Linked DNA regions of Homo sapiens: region 2 is linked to region 1. The links are contacts of gene promoters, found by promoter capture Hi-C in human tissues and cell types (Jung and others, 2019). All regions are on one chromosome and are shown on one strand. Each heading gives the region's core, a stretch centred on a gene start or on the middle of the fragment in contact. The rest is flanking DNA. Distances are from core to core; before and after follow the strand shown. Region 1 holds the start of GPC5 (glypican 5). Region 2 overlaps GPC5 (glypican 5).

Evidence for each region. Contacts are between HindIII fragments. The study calls those that stand out against the background at their distance.
Region 2: a contact is called between a fragment that was not itself captured here and the fragment with the promoter of GPC5 in region 1, in 5 of the 25 tissues and cell types used here (adrenal gland, aorta, lymphoblastoid cells and 2 more).

The regions. Positions count from the first base shown.
Region 1 is chr13:91,397,059-91,400,082 of GRCh38, reverse strand. GPC5 (glypican 5) reads right to left here and starts at 1,462. Exons shown (of 8, transcript NM_004466.6): 1 at 874-1,462. The coding sequence starts at 1,036. It overlaps LOC124903189 (a long non-coding RNA gene), which reads right to left. Exons shown (of 2, transcript XR_007063831.1): 1 at 2,922-3,024; 2 at 2,495-2,737. RefSeq lists silencers at 1,378-1,647, 1,354-1,648. The HindIII fragment of the contact is 16,121 bases long and covers 1-3,024 here.
Region 2 is chr13:91,486,411-91,489,434 of GRCh38, reverse strand. The region is part of intron 2 of GPC5 (glypican 5); the gene reads right to left. Among named protein-coding and RNA genes, the nearest start is that of GPC5, 89 kb to the right of the region's middle. The HindIII fragment of the contact is 4,390 bases long and covers 1-3,024 here.

The DNA of each region.
Region 1 (3,024 bases), core at 213-2,712:
CAGCTATGACCTATTCTTCCAGACAGAACCTACACTGGAACTCCCACCAGCAGAAGGAAATTGGTGCGGTGGAAACGGGGAGCAGGGTTCGAAAGCACAGGCAAAAGGCGCTCACAGGAAGCAAGATCCACGCTGGCCACACAAACTGTATCTTTCCCTTTGGAACGCTGGTACATCTCATCCATGTCAAGTGACTCCCCAGTACGTTCGGTTTGATCGCCTGTTGCCCTAACACTTTTCAGGCTAAAAACTACCTTGGTGCTGGGAGACACACTGGGTGGTTGGGTTTCCTCCAAGCAGGGCTTGATACGAGGGCACAGAAGGGCAGCTAAGGGTCACGTCTCTGGGTGCACAGGGTCCAAGTCCTAATTACAGAGGAGACCGGCTGCCCTTGTCTGTGCCCCATTCTCCAGCAAAGGGGTATATCGCAGGTTTGTGATTTTTAGTACCAAACTTGGGGCGATCAATTCAATTCCCTCCACCTTATGAGAAAGCAGTAAACCGAAATCCCCGGTGGGGCACTGGGGAAATTCCTACTCGGAAGAGAAACGGAGTTAGACTGCGTGTCCCCCACGCCCTGATGTCTGCTTTCCTGGTTCCTTCCAACTCATCCTCCAAGACGAAGGGAGCCGGGCGGGAAGCAGATGCCCAGAACGGGGATTCGTCGCAGGCTTGGTTAGGGGTCCCCAGAGCTGCGCTGCGCTGCACTCAGGCTACCCGCACCAAGCATCCCCGGAAGCCTCCCCGGGATTCACCCTGCGCGGCTGCAGGGCCCGAAAGGTCATCTTCCCACGAGTGCCACCAAGGGAGCCTGGGGGAGCGAAGGCCGGGCTCGGACGCCGCCAGTCCAGAGACCCCCTCATTGCCCCTTACCTGCCCGCGGCGAATCCGGCAGCCCCCTGACAGCTCCCAGCAGCCGCCACTGGAAAAGTTTCCGAACTTCTTCGCAGGTCTGCACGCCCTCGCTGCGGGCGGACCCAACCAGGGCCAGAAGGAGGAGGCAGCGAAAGCCCACGGGCCAGGTCTGTGCGTCCATCCTCGCCGTCCTGGTCCCCTTTACCCGCCAGTGGACCCCACTCGCCCTGCGCGCCCTGGCTGAGCTGCAGACGTGGAAGACACAGCGGCCGAGGCTCTCGAGCGGTGCGAGCCGGCTGCGGGGTGTACGGACCGCCCGCGGGCACCGGCTTCACCTGGGAGCAGTTAGCTCTTCCCGGAGGAGGCCCTAAGCTGAGACACCAGAGTTTTCCAGCTGAGCACCCTCTGGTCTTCTTCCCTAGCCGAGAAGAGTGGGCGGCTGGGCGGGGCGAAGAAAACTAGTGGAGCCGCAGGGAGCCCGCAAGCATCCGCTCTGGCCACCACTGCTGCAACTGCTGCCGCTGCCGCCACTGCCGCCACTGCCGCCACTGCCGCCGCCGCCGCCGCCTCCGCCGCCCGGCTCGGCTCGCAGCAGCTAACCTGGGATGTGCCCGCTCGCTGCGCTCCGCGGAAGCCCCGCCCCGCACTCCCCGCCCCGCGGACAGGCCACGCCCCTGCCACGCCCCCGGCGCGCTGTCCCGCTCCGCACCCACTAAGATGCTGTCATACGCGGCCCAGTGCTGAAGACTCGGAGCGACATCGATGCAAATAAATAGAAGGAAACCCGGACCTCGCTCTCCCAGTCCGTTCTGGGGAAGAATCATCTGATAAAAACAGAGAATGTATAAATAGGGTCAGAGAAGACAAGAGATGAGAAACACCAACTGGAACTAAGAAATATCTCATCTATGTAATCAAGGTCCTCAGTACATAGGAATTTGTATTCTAATTGCATTAAATAGGATCTGGACATAATACAAAAGGCAAAAACTATTTACGGTTAAAGATCTCAATTGAGAGACTTCATAACACTTAGGTTGTTAAAGAGTGCACATGAGAAGTTATTTTTTAAAATGGCTTTGTTTTACTGCTTAGGAACATTTTTCTATAACATGATTTTCTGAAAGGAGGTATAAGAATTACAATCAAACTTTATCACATTCTTATCACAATGAAATCTAGTTTTAAGTCTCTTATCACCATTTAGCATCATATTTTACTTCAGCACTTTGTATTTGTGGGGCTCCTCTGAGCTTTACCACTTCTGGAATTTCTTTAAAATATTTTTCAGAGAGCAATTAAGTTAAGAGTGCTCAGGGGAGTTCCTTACAAGGAATATAGAAAAATAAATACTTTAAGCAATTTTAAAATGGCAAAGGAATTTTGTCAATTTACAGTTTATGAGAGGAATGCATTACGCACCATAAACCAAAGGGCAGGTGCATTTTTTAAATGTGGTTGACTCAACAACTAAGCCTGTAAGAGTGTCTCAATCTACAGCCACTTGAAGAGAGTACTCCTTCTGTAAAATAAACTAGTTAAAAGCATCAGGCAGAGGGGACAATGAATGCTTTAACCACTTTAAGGAATTTCATCTCAAATTTGAACCCTTACCAAGAGATAGTAGTGAAAAACTTTATGTCTTAGTGAAGATTTTTAATGAACATTTAATATCAAAGGCAGCACTTTCAGCAGTATATCACTTGCTTTAAAACCATTCCAGGGCAATGGCTGAAACACTGCTTCAGAGTGAAATCATGCTACTTGGTGTTTGGCATCAGTTTTCTGAATATGAGATTTTGTTTCAAAGGGCAGTGCTCTTCATGAATCTCTTCTGCTCTAACCACCAAGTATGGAAAGATTGTCTGGAAGCCACCTATATCTATGAAAAGAAACAAGAAAAACCATGAGAATGTATATAGTGCTTATGGGCCAGATAATATTCTAAGTATTTTATGGAAATGAATTCACTCATGTAATCTTTATAACAACCTTATAAAGTAGTTACTACTATTATCATTGTTTTACAGATGAGGAAACAGGAACACAGAGGTGAAGTGACTTACTGAATGCCTAAGGTAAGTGACAAAGCCAGAAATCAAACTGAGGCTTCCAAATCCAGACCGCATGCTCTTCTCCAGAGGCTCTCCTTGACTATTCTGTGGTACA
Region 2 (3,024 bases), core at 257-2,756, 89 kb before region 1:
GCCCCCAATATTTCACATAGGTTCTTTTCTATTTTTCCTAAGTGGCAGCCGGTCTGAGAAATAAAGGGACAGAGTACAAAAGAGAGAAATTTTAAAGCTGGGTGTCCGGGGGAGACATCACATGTCAGTAGGTTCCGTCATGCTCCACAAGCCCCAAAACCAGCAAGTTTTTATTAGTGATTTTCAAAAGGGGAGGGAGTGTACGAATAGGGTGTGAGTCACAGAGATCACATGCTTCACAAGGTAATAAGATATCACAAGGTAAATGGAGGCAGGGTGAGATCACAGGACCGGGGCAAAATTAAAATTGCTAATGAAGTTTCGAGCACACATTGTCATTGATAACATCTCATGAGCAGACAGGGTTTGAGAGCAGACAACCGGTCTGACCAAAATTTATTAGGTGGGAATTTCCTCGGCCTAATAAGCCTGGGAGTGCTACAGGAGACCAGGCTTATTTCATCCCACAGCTACGACCATAAAAGACAGCCGCCCCCAAAGCGGCCATTTTCGAGGCCTCCCCTCAGGGACACATTCTCTTTCTCAGGGATGTTCCTTGCTGAGGAAAATAATTCAGTGACATTTCTCCCATTTGCTTTTGAAAGAAGAGAAATACAGCTCTGTTGGCCTGGCTCACCAGCAGTCAGAGTTTACGGTTATCTCTCTTGTTCCCTGAACATATTGTTCAAACACACATGCTCTACAAACAATCTGTGCAGTTAACACAATTATCACAGGGTCCTGAGATGACAGACATCCTCCTCAGCTTACGAAGATGACAGGATTAAGAGATTAAAGTAAAGACAGGCATAGAAAATCACAAGGGTATTGATTGGGGAAGTGGTAAGTGTCCATGAAATCTTCACAATTTATGTTCAGAGACTGCAGTAATGACAGGCATAAGAAATTATAAAAGTATTAATTTGGGGAACTAACAAATGTCCATGAAATCTTCACAATTTACGTTCTTCTGCCATGGCTTCAGGCGGTCCCTCCGTTCGGGGTCCCTGACTTTCCGCAACATAGGACCTAACTGAAACTCCTTCAACTTACCTTGGGGAATCACTTCACTCTTCTAATCTCCCCTAGCAAATGACATTTTTTTGGAATTATAAAGAAACTTACAAGCGGGTTAGTTTATAAATTGAAAATCAAGCATAGTACAGTCTAAATAACACTTTCAAACCTCTTAACTTACCCCTAAAATACAGAACATCAGTTTTACATCAAACTTAGCCCTAGGAGATGCTTCATACTGAGAAAATCATCATGACCATATATGCCATAATAGAAACTTGGAACAACAGGTTCCTTTCTCCCATTGTATATACCCTCTGGGTCATACATATATGTATTTCTCTCTTCCTATCCATCCCTCCACTCAAAACTTATAGTGGAATTAAATGTGCATATAATGCATTTTCTCCAAGTATGCTATCTTGTTCATTTTTTATACATCTATCTCCTTAGTCATATTGTAAGTATCCCCGTAAAAAAAAAAAAAACCTGTTTAAATGTCCAGTGTTCAAATGTACACATGGTATTCTCTTGGCAAATACTTTCTGCTTACTATATTTGGTAGGATAATCCTAACATATGGGTTCCTTCAGTGAGGATAAAAACAAGGACCGAAAATGGGGCCTGAAGGAATCCTAAAGACAAGCTTTATCTGACATAAACATCTGATCTATAAAGGAGAAGTAGAGATAATAGATTTTTTAATCATGTAGCATGTAGTTAAAAGTTCAACATCTTACCTCAAAAATAAGCTAGTCCATGAAACACTCAATGCTAAATAAAGATGCTAAAGGCTCCCAGAGAATTTCACCCCAAAATATAACACCACGGTATACTATTTTAGATGCAAGGCCATTGAAGGTGATCAGATCTTGGAAGGGGCCCTACCCTAGTATTCCCTTTTCTATCTGAAGACTGGACCTGCCAAAGAGAAAACCTTCTATCCCCTCCCCCAAATGTCATTATCTATCACAGAAAATAAGAGTGAGAAATGTAACCACACCTGGACAGATGTTTCCACAGGATAATGTCTGTCTCTGAGGCGCATTGAAATTCCAAAGAAAATTCTTTATAAGTTAATTTCCATCTTCAGCATCCATTCATTCTCCCTACTAACCATCTATTACTCCTCAAAAGATTTGCCTTCATTCCCCATATCCCCACTCCCCGTGAAGAAGAGTATATAAGCATCGTTGGGCTATTGGGTAATCACACCCGTGACTTCCCCCCATCTCCACCCCTTGTGCACGTTAAATAAATTTTGTATGCTTTCTCTCCTGTTAATCTGCATTTTGTCAGTTCATTTTCAGCAAACCCTCAGAAGGTGAAGAGGAAACTTTCCCTCCTCAAACCTACAATATTGAGCCTGAATCAAAGCTCGATTTGGATATTTTTATTTCTCAGATACACCCCATACAAGCTTCAATTCCCTAGCCCCCACATCAGTCACAGATTTCATATTTTAGGAATATGGCCTTGATACAGACAATCATTCCAGGCAGCAGATAAGAGACTCTCAAAGCAATTCTTCAATTCAACCCAACCCTTACCTGTTCTCTGTTCACTGCATTGAAGAGAACTGTCTTTGCTTTACCTCTCCAGAATCAACTCGCTGAGTCCAAGAATTGGTGTCACGTTCCAATCTGCTCAATTTCTTTCTCATACTAAGTAATAGACATCCTCATCCTTCCTGCTTAGGGTTTATTTTTAAATCACTATATTGGGATTTTTGTTTGTTTTCTGGTTCCTCAAAGATAGCTTAATTGAGCAAGGTTTATCCTGCCTTTCTTGTCTTGGCTCCAAAGATACCAAGATCAAGAGACAGCTAGCCTTAGAAATTTTCTATTTATGCATTAGCTTTTTCACTTTCTTAGACATGGCAAGCTGGTATCAAAGTTAGTCTTACAATAAAAAATCTTGCAGCTGACTATGTGTTATTATTTAGGGTCTCCAGAAAGACCCCTAAAGAAAACCCAATGGGTTTAACACAGTTGAAACTATTTTGCT